3 separate regions of the Homo sapiens genome follow, and all the other regions are linked to region 2. The links are contacts of gene promoters, found by promoter capture Hi-C in blood cells and fetal thymus (Javierre and others, 2016). All regions are on one chromosome and are shown on one strand. Each heading gives the region's core, a stretch centred on a gene start or on the middle of the fragment in contact. The rest is flanking DNA. Distances are from core to core; before and after follow the strand shown. Region 1 overlaps DNAJC19 (DnaJ heat shock protein family (Hsp40) member C19). Region 2 holds the start of GNB4 (G protein subunit beta 4). Region 3 overlaps FXR1 (FMR1 autosomal homolog 1).

Region 1 (4,049 bases), core at 864-3,363, 1.5 Mb after region 2:
TAAGAAAATACCAGCAAAAGATAAAAGTTTTTTTATGGATCGTATTTGTATCAATCACCTACATGATCTAGAGCCCTCACATGGATAACATTTAAATGTTCAGTTTGCCTAATAGCCTTCAATGAAACACGGATTCTTCTACTTAAAAAAGGTAAGCCTGGAGAAAATAAAACTGATTACTATGCAAGAAAAAAATGTGCTCTGCTGTGCTCCTTGGTATTTTTAAGTGGTTTCCATTGTCTTAACACCTGTCTTAAAACGGGTATGTTGTTTGCACTGAACCCTCAAAAGTATTTATACCTATTAAGTTAAATTTCCCTTTTTAGAGTTAATGCTTCATTGCCTGTCGGCATATTATCACTATCTGTCTTTGAAAAATTTTCTTTTAAGTCTCAACTATTTCTTCATAAAGCTCTTGTTCAGAGAAACATTTTTTGATTTGTCCAATGGACTGAAATAAAAGGTTAGTAAACCAAAATACAGTTGATCCTCATTATTAGTAGAATTCCTTATCTGTGAATTTGCCTACTCACTAAAATTTGTAACTCCAAAATCAACATCCTTTTCTGGTCATTTGTGAGTATTTGCAGAGTGACAAAAAATTTAAACCACTTTATGTGCACAAGGCAATGCTCTACCTTGTTTAAGCTCTCACACCATAAACAGATATCCTTTTTGTGGTCTATTTAGTGCCAAGTTTCATGTTTGTGCTTTTTGTTGGTGATTTTGCTGTTTTAAGATGGTTCCTAAGAGTAGTAGTGAAGCATGCTACCTAGTGTTCCCAAATGCAAAGAAGGCCGTGATGTCCCAAGCATGAGTTAGTTATAGTGCTGTTGGCTGTTAATTGAAAGTTAATGAAATACTAAAGAATGTTTTCAAGCAGAAACAGGTCGATCAAGGTTATATACTGACTGGCAGACAATATTGTGACCAAAGGGTCACAGAATCTGTATTTCTCTTAGGAACTTGTTCCTTATTTGCTAATTCAGTGTTCATAGCCACCTTAAAGAACAGAATTACCACAAACAAGAACCAGCTGTACTTTCATGTCTCCTTGTCCCTGGAAATAATTTATCCTGCATAAAAGCCTTAGAAGCTAGTGTTTCATCATACACTAAATCATAACAGACTCCATCAGATTTTAAACGAGGGTATTGGATAGAAAACACAAAGAGCAGATATACCTTTACTTTATAAGGCAGATAAATATTACCTCCACTATTTTTTTAACCTCAAAAGTCCTTGTATCCTCCAATAATTAAGAAACTTATGATGACTTAAGGAAGTTTAGACGGTAGGTAGTATAATTTATCATCTTAGAGCTACACATAAGAAATACTCCTGTTGAGAAATACATACTAGTTTATACCAGATGTTTTATACAGGTCCTCTTAAGATCCTTATATATTTTATGTTAGACAAACAGTAAGTAATTTGCCTTTAAACATCATTTAAATTTATTAGTGTATAAATTCTAAAGAGTCCAAATTAAATATGTTGATATTGAGAACATTTCAGTTTTCAGTTTTGCTAACAGGGTTTAAGCTTAATCATAACAATTGCAGAAGTTTGATTATGTCAAGAAATAGCCAACTGAAGGAATAATTTATAAATGGTCATTACCTTTAAGGGGCTAGCTGAATACAATGTAAATACTCATGCCTGTAATCCCAGTACTTTGGGAGGCTGAGGCGGGAGGACTGCTTAAACCCAGGAGGTTGAGGCTGCAATGAACTGTGATTGTACCAGACCTGTACTCTGAAATCTTTATCATACTATTTTTAATGCATGAAATAAAAATGGTTTATATGTACATAGAATACACACACACACACACCCCTAGGTCAATTTCTTAGGTCTCAGTTGTGGTTAAATTCACTTTTAAATACAAGGTTCCAAGTATCCAAGTTGCCAGGCCAGTTGCCTGTACCTGGAACAGCCTTTCCACCGAATAAGAAGAGTCCCTACTTAAACAGCTTAAGCTAATTTCCATCATACTATTTATCACAGTCTAATTACCAGTTTATCAGTCTCCCATTAAAGTGGGGGCTCCCTGAGAGCAAGGACTGTCATCTTCACTTTGCCTTGAAAAGTAGACATAGGTCCCAAATTATCTGCTAAATGAGTAATGAACAATATTTCTATTCAGAAGGTGTGTGCTTGCCCATAATTAATACGCAAATATTCTAAACTATAATCTGATTTAAAATCCCCAAATTTAAACAAGAAAATTATACCAAGGCTTTGAGATTTAGCTTGTGCTAAATCATTTTTTAAAATTGTAGCTCTGAGGCATTTTATTATAAAAACTTAGTACTCATATACATAAACTAATACGAACTTAAAATTCATCATACATTTACTTCATTTTTTAGCTTGACCTTCTAGTAAATCTTTAGCTTCATTGATTTTGGCTGCTATATAAGGAGATCCTCCTATAGGAAGAAAGAAAAAAGAACAGTTACAATATGGATTCTCAATTTCTGCTTGGTAAAAAGCTACTCTTGTTTCAAGGACTCCAATGCTTATCTGAGGGAGATTTAGCAGAAACAGTGTTTTAATTTTTAAAAAATAACCCTGACACTGCAACTGGATGACCAAATATATGGTAATATATGTGACCAATGAGAAATGAAGTAATTTACGTGGGAGATATTTCTACAAAAATAACACCTTTTTAGAAAGCTTAAACTGATAGAAATAGGATTTCTATCATATATATTAGATATATATGTATATGCCTTTGAACTGGTGTTAGCCTATTCATGATTACAGGTCATAAATGAACATCAATTATACCATGTTATTTTAATACCATGATATTCTCAGAGGCTTCTGAGCTGTTTACTGGAAAGATCCCAGTTTGCTTTACATCCTTTTTCTGTCCAGTTTTTCTTTTCCTGTTATCTACTGTCCCTTCACAATGTCATCTACAGCTGCTTTCCTACGAATCTGCTGGAGGAGTGATTCTCAAAGTATGGTCCTAAGACCAGCAAGAAATAACAGGAAATTTAGTATAAATGCATATTTATGGGGCTCCACTGCCGACCTACTGAGTCAGAAGCCCTCCATATAAAACAAGCTAAATTTCATAAAAGATACTGTGAAGTAGATATCAAACAATTATAACCCTGTTTAAAATGTCAAAACCCTTTTTATTAATGAAAGCCCTCTCCTGTATAAGTAAAAGGATACAAACACTAGAACATGAATTCTGTGGTCTATTTTTTGGTATTCAAAGAAATTCTTGCTTTCCTTCAACACAGCCAAGGCTGCATAGAAGTCTATCACAAACGAATAAATAAATCCCATAAGTTTCTATCTAGGTAATCTCCGTTTCAAGGTATCTAAAATGGATAAGGAAAAATTACATTTTAGTTTTACGAAATTTAACGTTTTAATTATAATAAATGTAGGCCAGAAAAACCCACAAAACATAGTAATAGTAGCACTTACATCTGCTCATTCTGTAAGTAAAGTTTTCACTTAATTTCTTTTAAGACACCAAAAATATATGGCTCCAGCCTAGGAGACAGGACTTACAGATTTAAGTGTTACCTTTCTAATAGCCAGGAATTTGAGATAAAATTATCCCATTAATAACTATTGGTCACACCAACAACATCAACGAGAATTTAATGACTACTTACCTTTGTCAGGATGATTTAAAAGCATAATTCGTCGATGAGCATCTCTTATTTTCCCTTTATTGGCAGTAGGGCTAATTAAAAAAAGAAATGGTATTTACTTCATCCTACTTCTGCATCACATCAAAAAACTGTACATAAAGGCCAATTAAAGACACTGTGAAACTGTAGTAAATTAACACAACAGTATGAAAAGCTGTTTAGAAACCTCAACACACCCAATGCGTATCCTAAATTGGGAAACTACTTAGAAAAGTAAGGCACTCTCAAAAATGTGTTGAACTTGCAGTACCCATTACAACAGTCCTTTTATTGATAAGAAACGCATGTTTAAGGATTTGAAAATGAAGAAGGAAGAGTTTTGTTTTTTTTTTTTTTTGAGATAGTCTCACTCTGTCCCCT
Region 2 (4,053 bases), core at 1,272-3,771:
AGTCACTGAAGCAGAACACTGGATCAAGAAACCATTTTATTTTAAAATGGCAGACTGTACAATAATGTAAATGATTCTGTAGTAACTGACAAATTGAAGGTGCAGGAGAGAGTATGATAAATTGCAGAGGGAAATATCCATCAAAATATCCTCTAGTTTAATTTGAGGGATATCAAAGGGTTCTCATATCCCAAAATTGACCGCAATCCTGTTTGTAACCTTCCAAATTAGTTATAACTCTATCTCTAGAGAACCCACATTAAAATGGAGTTACTGTTTTATCAAGATAATTAAGCCATCACTACCTATTAATATCAATAGGATACACTGTGCCCTGGCAAAAGGGAGGTTTTGAACTTGGAACAAGACATTTAACTAGGAGTAGAGTGGTGAGAAGAGAATGGCTGATGTGAGAAGCTGTATAAAAACATGGGACAGACAATAATGATCATGCTGGAAAAACAAACATGCTTCTGGCATGTCTTGGATATTTTACACACATGCTAATGAGTAATTGAGGGTCACTCCTCATGCCCTCGAACTAAGTTAATATGGCTCAGGGGAAAGAACATGGACTTTGGAAACAGAGGGGTCTTGCTTCGAATCCCAGTTGAGTTACCTAACACCTACATGACCACTGCCAAGTTACTTAAAACCTCACAGACAATTTCCTTACCTGTGGAAGTAGATAATGGTGTTACTGTGAGATATAAGTAGAATAACTTACAGCACTGCCCCAGCCCAGAAGAGATATTTTAATAAATAAGTCCATAACAGACGCAGATTAAAATAGTCAGCAAGGTAAAGAAACTGATGATACAGCCAGCTGACTTCAATAACATGCCTAAGAGAAATCACACCATCTCAGGCAGTATTTGGTAAGGCCAGAAGAATGTCCAACACTTAGTTCCAATTCTTAATTTTCAAATTGCCCCAGAGTCTATTTTTAAAGTGTAAAAGTATGTGCTGACATACTTACATGCCAATTGTTTAAAAGAAACAATTCTACAGGTTAACAAAGGCCAAAGACTCGGAATAACTTCCTAAATAATGTTTATGGGCCCACAAAGAGTTGAACCAACCTAAAATATCACAAGCTGTATCAATCAGTTTTATAAATGTATATACAGAGGGTTGACAACGTTCAATAAGATGATATTTTAAAAGTTTCTATTTCAGTTTCAAATTCATCTACAAACCAAAATGCAACATGGAAAATCTTAAAATGTCTTTAAGCCACATACTGAAATATACAGTAAATTTTCAGAGCCTAGGATCAGTAGTAAACCAAAAGCCCCAAACTGAAGAGTATTAAAATGAACAATGGCAGAGACTCGAAGCACACAATTTTGAATGCACCTAATCAGCCGTCCTCCTCTCCGACTAGAAATAACTTCCCTCCCATCTTAAATTAAGTAGCGTGTGTTCTGTCTCTGTCCTAGAAGATGTACTTAATGGTCATAAACTCTGTTTGCAACACTGAGACGGACTCATAATAAAAGTTCTAATCAACAATTAAATTTTGAACGTTTTAAGAAAACTTCCCGCTAAGCCACACGCCAAGCTACTTTGTCGGTGGCTGAGAGGGAGAAAGATGCATCCTTATCCTTTATGGAAAGAGAAAGGGAAGGAGTGGGAGAAAAGGGAACACAAGGAGACGAAAAATAACAAAGTATTGCTTGTATAAACAAATGAAAGCCTGGTTTCAAACTTTTGAAAATTCAACGTTCCCTTAGCGAATAGCAATACATATCAAAGTATATGGCAATCATCTGTGTTCTGAAGCAGAAAAAGGTGGAGAGAAAAGCAAAACACTTTTTATTGTACTGAACTCACAAGTATTCAAAATTCATCAATCCCCTCCCATCCCCAAACTCTGGACATTATATCATTTCCAAAATAAATCTGAAACAAAACCATTGGACTAATTTTGGACTCAGCGTAGAACTTTTATGAGTCTTCCAAGCACTCTCCACCCAACAGCCCTGCTGGGCAGTCCCGAATACCCGTTATTTTGGGGGCACGCACGGGCTCGTGCTCTGAGTTCCTGGAAGGAGGCCTCGGGGAGTGACGAGAAACCAGGGGGGTCTGCAGGACTTGGACCGCCGACCGTTCCTCGCTCCCCGGGGCGAGCGGTCTGGACCGCCCGGGAAGTGCCTGCGCCGGCGGTCGTGGGGCCAGTTCCCGCGTGGCAGCTGGGCGCGACACAGGCGCGCCCTCCTCGTCCCTCCCGGGCAGCGTCGGCCGCCCGAGCCCGGGGAGACCCGCCCCGCCCCGCGCCGTCACCCGGGCCCCGTTCCGCAGGGGTGGCTCGCGGCGCCCCACGTCCCTGCGAGAAGCCCGGGATCGCTTCGCGGGGCGCACCGACGAGCCGCCGCTCGCGAGCTCGCCGCCTACCTGGAGGGAGCTCAGGCCCGCGTCGACCGCGCGCTGCCGGTGTCCGCTGGGCGCTCAGCAGCCCCTGGAGCGCGGAGCCGGCGTGGAGAGCGCAGCTCACAGCCGAGACCAGAGCCGCCGGCCACACCCAGTCCCGCACCTCCCAGCAGCCAACTCCGCGGCGCGCCGGAGCCGGGGCGGGGACGTGGCTGGAGGCGCGAGGCGCGAGGCACGAGGCGCGCGGGCCCGGCGGGGACGTGCCGGGGACGCGCAGACCCTCGGAGCGCGCGCAGCCCGGGCGGGGGGCGAAGGGAGCGGGCGCCGCGCGCAGCTTCTGCTTCCTATTTTCTCTCTCGTTTCCTGCCAGAAGGAGAAGAAAAACATTCATTCCCGGGCAGTTTCGTTTTCTTGTTGGTGTGGCGCCGGGGCACGCTGCTAAGTAGCGCCCGTCTAAGTGGCGTGGCCAGTTTCCTTTCCGGCGCTGACAGGCGCCAGTTTGCTTGTTAGCAGGATCGAAGGGCAGAGCTAGAAGACCCCAAAGGCCCCATTTAGGTTTCCCATTCTGGAATTCTAAATGTCAGAAAGTAAACTGAAGCCCAGAGTTGCACAACCTTGCGTTGCAGTCCCCGCTCTTCCATCACTAGTTGTAGGACCGTGTACCGTCTCGGGCCTAAGTTTCGTCATCGCCAAAATAAAGATACTGATACCTGCCTCATAAAGGTGCTAAGCATATTAAATGAAGTGATGTTTGCACGAAGCCTGCCTCCAAATAAATGGCCAATACTTGGAAGTTATTGTTCCTATTGTCATTGATAAAACTGGAAGGCCTTCCAGATATCCCTGCCAAGTCGCTCTTCTCTGCATGAGTTAAACACCACATGCATCTCAATCGAGTTTTTTTTTTTTTCACATTTATCTGGGTGTTTTATGTTTAAAATGTCATAAAATAAATGCATCTATCCAATTTGCTTCCTCTGAAGTCAGTACCGCCTGGGAGCATTTTTCCTCTCCCCACCCCCATTTTTCTTCTGAGTTAATTCCAGTTTGACAGACTGTTGCTATAGCATTCCTTCTCTGACGTCAAACAATTTAAAGAAACAGCCCTGGGTAGCGAAAACTGCAGAGGAGTTCTTTGTGGAGTTTCTGTGCCGGAGAAATGTTCGAACAATATCATCAGATAACTTTAACAACCCCTCAGCCTTCCAATCCTCCTTCTGTAGCTGCTTCCCACTATCACCTGGAATAAATCTATTAGTCCCTTGAAAGAGGTGATGCCATGATAAACACACCCTGTTTGTGACTGTGGGGAAAATGTGACCGTTTTGTATAAAAGCCAGGCCGTGACAAAAATAGAAGCAGCTGTTTCTATTTTCTTTATCCACAGATAAAGAAACTGTGGATAATTTTTCCCCCAAAATTTTCATTTTTACTAATATTAGGAGCATTTTTCCATTAAGAAGAAAGAAATGCCAAATATTCTGCATATCAAAGTGTCAGAAGAGCTCGTTGGGACATGAGTGTTTTGCATCTGTAACTATTTATGTTTTAATGATTAAATCCTGAGTTTTATGATTGTCGTTTTTCGGAGGAAGCAAAGGGAAATTGTTAAAGAGTGCCTATTACGGACCATGCTCTCTGCTTTCTTATACTGTACTTAATCCTCATAATTACCTTGAA
Region 3 (4,221 bases), core at 133-2,632, 1.5 Mb after region 2:
AATAATCCCAGCGCTTTGGGAAGCCAAGGCAGGAGGATTGCTTGAGGCAAGGAGTTGGGCAACAGAGCAAGACCCTGTCTCTACAAAAAATAAAAAGTAATAGCTGGTTGTGGTGACACGCATCTATAGTCCCAGCTACTCTGGAGGCTGAGACAGGAGAATCACTTGAGCCCAGGAGTTTGATGCTGCAGTGAGCTGTGATTGTAACACTGCACTGTAGCCTGGGCAACAGAGCAAGACGTCATCTCAAAAAAAAAAAAAAAAAAAAAAAAAAAAGGTGTGTGTGTGTGTGCCTGCCTGTCAGTTTCATGTCACTTTTAGGCTAGAACTTTGTTAAAATATTAAACACTGAATACTTTTTTTTTTTTTTAAACAGGGTATGGTTCCATTTGTATTTGTTGGCACTAAAGAAAGCATTGGAAATGTGCAGGTTCTTCTAGAGTATCATATTGCCTATCTAAAGGTTTGTATACGGTTCATACTATATTCTGATATTGTTGCTGCATTTACTACATAAATGTTGTACATTTGCTACAAATTTAAAATGTCCTCACATTAAACATTTTATATTTGAAGTAAACTTCAAATCTTTAAATATTTTTTGTTAATTCAGCTTCAGATTTGCCATTGTTCTACATGAGAATTTAAAAAGTCCTTTGTCATCATAAAATGATTGGCCTTGTGTGCATAATTTCTCTTCTTTCTGAGCTTTTATATTTCTTTCTTTCTTAAGAAATGATTCCTTTGTCTTCATGCAATTTGACTCTCAGATCACTTATGTATCTGCATGTTCATACTGGAGCCATTTTGTTTTTACTTTTGTACTTTACATACAAATAGGGTACAGAACCAGGAGTGACATTGGGCTTCCTTGGTAACTTTGGCATTATGCAAATCATCTGCATCATCTCCACTGACATTACTCGATAATTTGTAACCATTGTTAACAAAATAGTCTATTTGAGTTGATACATAAAGAGCAAGGGTTTTTAGAAAAATATGACCCATAAATTATTAAACATTTTAATTTTATTTTCTACTCTTTCCCTTTTATTCCTGCTGTGTTTCTTTTTAAAGTATAATAATATCCTCACCTGTTCTCTGCCTCTAGTATGTTTTCCTCCCAGTCTGTCGTATCATTGTTGCTGTTACTATTTTGAGATCACTCTGATAATGTCATTTCTTTTCTTTTGAAATTCATCTTTATATGAAAAGTCGCAATTAAAGCTGGCATTTTGAAGCCAGTGCTTTATCTTTCAGTACTCATCTTTTAACCAAGAGCTTTCTCTAGACATCTAACCTTTGCATCCTGTAATGACCTCAATTTCTGAATGACAAAGTCTAGCACTCCTTCTAGGTCACAACTCGTGTCACTGCTTTGATAGGAAAGTAGCTTGTTAATAGTACCTTTCATAGATGCTACCTGTATCTCATTCAGCAATTCTAACTCCTTGAGGGCAAAATCTGGTAATATTGTATAATTGTTAGCTATTTAATAAATAACTTATTTTAAAGCTGTCTGTTAAACATCCCCTTGATTGGGGAGAGTCCATGTCTTCTTTTATATTGTATGCCTATAGTAGCATGTTTGGCACACTCTAGACCATTCAGTAAATGTTGAACAGAAACAGCAAATGACCTCATCAATTCTGTTGACTAGGAACACAATGCTCTTTACCATCTAATTGCCTAAGGTCACAGCTTTGATAGGGAGTACAGCTTTAGCTTTAGGCTTTAGGAAAACAAAAAGTTATATATAAGAAGACTTACTCTTTTTTGTTTTGATTGTAGGAAGTAGAACAGCTAAGAATGGAACGCCTACAGATTGATGAACAGCTGCGACAGATTGGTATGGGTTTCAGACCTTCTTCCACCAGAGGGCCTGAAAAAGAGAAAGGATATGCCACTGATGAAAGTACCGTCTCTTCTGTACAAGGTTCTAGGTCTTATAGCGGAAGAGGCAGAGGTCGTCGGGGACCTAATTACACCTCCGGTTATGGTAAAAAAAAATTTTTTTTTTTTTTTTTTGGTAATAGTAATAATAGTAGTTATAGTTTAGGTGCTCTAACACATTTTCTTATAATTAGTTCATTACTCTGTCTTGGCTTTGAGGGTAGAAGGTAGTTCTGAAGGTTTAGTACACGTCTTAATAGTAGTGATAGTATACATTAAAATGACAGTAAAATATATAAAATTTCCAAGCAGTTATGTAATGAAGCAAAGCATGTTTTTAAGTTGGTAGTTCATTGTCATGTTTATTATATTTACAAAGAATACATATGTAACTTGTTTTTCAAATACTTTACTAGTACAGTTTTATACATTTCCCAGTAAATACCTAGTAATGGTGGTGGTGATACTTCTAGGAATCATCTTTTGTCTACCCTCTTTAAGTAAAAAATGAAAAGTGTGCGAATCACTGCCAAGATTGCATATAGCAAGTCTTTTTACTAGCTTTTAAAAAATATTTTACTTACTCATTTGGCGTATTTGAATATATTAACATCTCACATCTGGAATTATTTTATTTAACAACATTTCACTAAAATGAAGACTCTGAAAGCCAGAATCTAATTTAACACTTTATAAATGAACATTTTCTAAAATGTATTTCACTGTGAGGATTGGGTCTAACCCAGATAGGAAGGGGGACAGTGGAGTGGTGATAGTCAACAATTCTCTAATCCTAAATTCTCCCTTATTCTTCTTCAGCTTTGGAGTTGTTCCATTTTTCTACATTTGGACTTGGATCTTAGCAGTGACCTGATTTGTTTTTTTCCTTCGCCCCTTCTCTTTATTTTCTCTTTTCCTTTTCTTTTCTTCACTCCTATACTTACTCCCTTTTGAGGAAATATAAAACCTTTTCCAAAATGTAAGGCATTTAAGGAAAATAGAAATAAATGCAAATTTCATGCTTTAATTGAAGGATCATCTAATGCTGACAAAGTTATATTAAACCTGAACTATCTTCAATTTGTTGTAGAGTTGTAAGTTTGTGTCCCTGCCCTTTAATATCATATCTTTATGTTCTCATTTTCTTATATATGTTTTTATTTAATGCAGTATTGAAACCTAAACAGCAAAATTCTAATAAAGAAGTGTTCAGCATATAAAGGGATGAAAATTGCAGACTATTATTATATTTCTGAAAATGTTTAATGCAAAAGACAGTTAACCAGTAATCACATAGAAATCAAATATATTCTCATTGATTTTTGAACCATACATTATTAGCATAGATAATCAGACTTGGCTTATTGGATGATGCGTATGATGAATTCATTGAATAATTTTATTAGCTTTTGTGGGAAGTCGGCTTATTGATGAGAGCTTACTCTGGCAAAATGCTTTTGTTGAGAGTAGATAATTATGTGAGAGGTAGAGAAACATCTGGATTCAAGAAAGCTGTGCAAATTGTTCAGTAGATGGCACTCTTAGCTCTGAATCTTAGTGGAATTGATAACATTTTATTTCTTGAAATAGTTACTGAACCTGAGTGGGCTTGGAAAAGCAAGAAAAACCATTTGAATTTGGTTGTAGACGTTCATGTATACATTATATCAGAGGGACTTGTAGTTGATTTATATATATATATATATATATATATATAATGAGTACTGTAGTTTTATCAGTTTAATAGGAACTATAAGAAACATTTCCCAGTATAACATCTCTGAAGTTGGTATGTGTGTTAAATTGGACATCTTACAACTTTAGCAGCATTTTCTTTTTTAATGGCACATAAAATAATGTCTTAAAATTGATGGCCTCTTGGAGTCGATAAAACGTGATTATTTTTAGCTGTTAAGCTTAGCACAACCAACCATTGAAAAATGATATAAACCATCTTCATAAGGTGATTTTAGAAGTTTGAGGGGAAAATATGATTTTAAAATTGGTTAAAAACACGATGTCATTATGTTTTGTTACTTTTTTTTTTTTGAGACGGAGTTTCGCTCTTGTTGCCCAGGCTGGAGTGCAGTGGCACAATCTCGGCTCACCGCAACCTCTCCCTCCTGGGTTCAAGTGATTCTCCTGCCTCAGCTTCCTGAGTAGCTGGGATTACAGGCATGCACCACCATGCCTGACTAATTTTGTATTTTTAGTAGAGACAGGGTTTCTCCATGTTGGTCAGGCTCGTCTCAAACTCCAGACCTCAGGTGATCTGTCTACCTCGCCTCCCAAAGTGCTGGGATTACAGGCGTGAGCCACCAGCCTGGC

What was found. Contacts are between HindIII fragments. The CHiCAGO score rates a contact against its expected background, and 5 or more counts as called.
Region 1: a contact is called between a fragment that was not itself captured here and the fragment with the promoter of GNB4 in region 2, in 1 of 17 cell types (M2 macrophages). The highest score is 6.8, in M2 macrophages.
Region 3: a contact is called between a fragment that was not itself captured here and the fragment with the promoter of GNB4 in region 2, in 1 of 17 cell types (monocytes). The highest score is 5.1, in monocytes.

What each region holds. Positions count from the first base shown.
Region 1 is chr3:180,982,276-180,986,324 of GRCh38, forward strand. DNAJC19 (DnaJ heat shock protein family (Hsp40) member C19) reads right to left here. Exons shown (of 6, transcript NM_145261.4): 5 at 3,651-3,721; 6 at 1,434-2,435. The coding sequence ends at 2,365. It overlaps FXR1 (FMR1 autosomal homolog 1), which reads left to right. Exons shown (of 17, transcript NM_005087.4): 17 at 1-478. Among named protein-coding and RNA genes, the nearest start is that of DNAJC19, 5.4 kb to the right of the region's middle. The HindIII fragment of the contact is 1,140 bases long and covers 1,544-2,683 here.
Region 2 is chr3:179,448,949-179,453,001 of GRCh38, forward strand. It overlaps GNB4 (G protein subunit beta 4), which reads right to left and starts at 2,522. Exons shown (of 10, transcript NM_021629.4): 1 at 2,398-2,522. It also overlaps the pseudogene RPL29P34. RefSeq lists silencers at 2,093-2,502, 2,543-2,692. The HindIII fragment of the contact is 16,902 bases long and covers 1-4,053 here.
Region 3 is chr3:180,961,092-180,965,312 of GRCh38, forward strand. It overlaps FXR1 (FMR1 autosomal homolog 1), which reads left to right. Exons shown (of 17, transcript NM_005087.4): 11 at 377-463; 12 at 1,792-1,849; 13 at 1,937-1,999. Among named protein-coding and RNA genes, the nearest start is that of DNAJC19, 27 kb to the right of the region's middle. The HindIII fragment of the contact is 4,850 bases long and covers 1-3,807 here.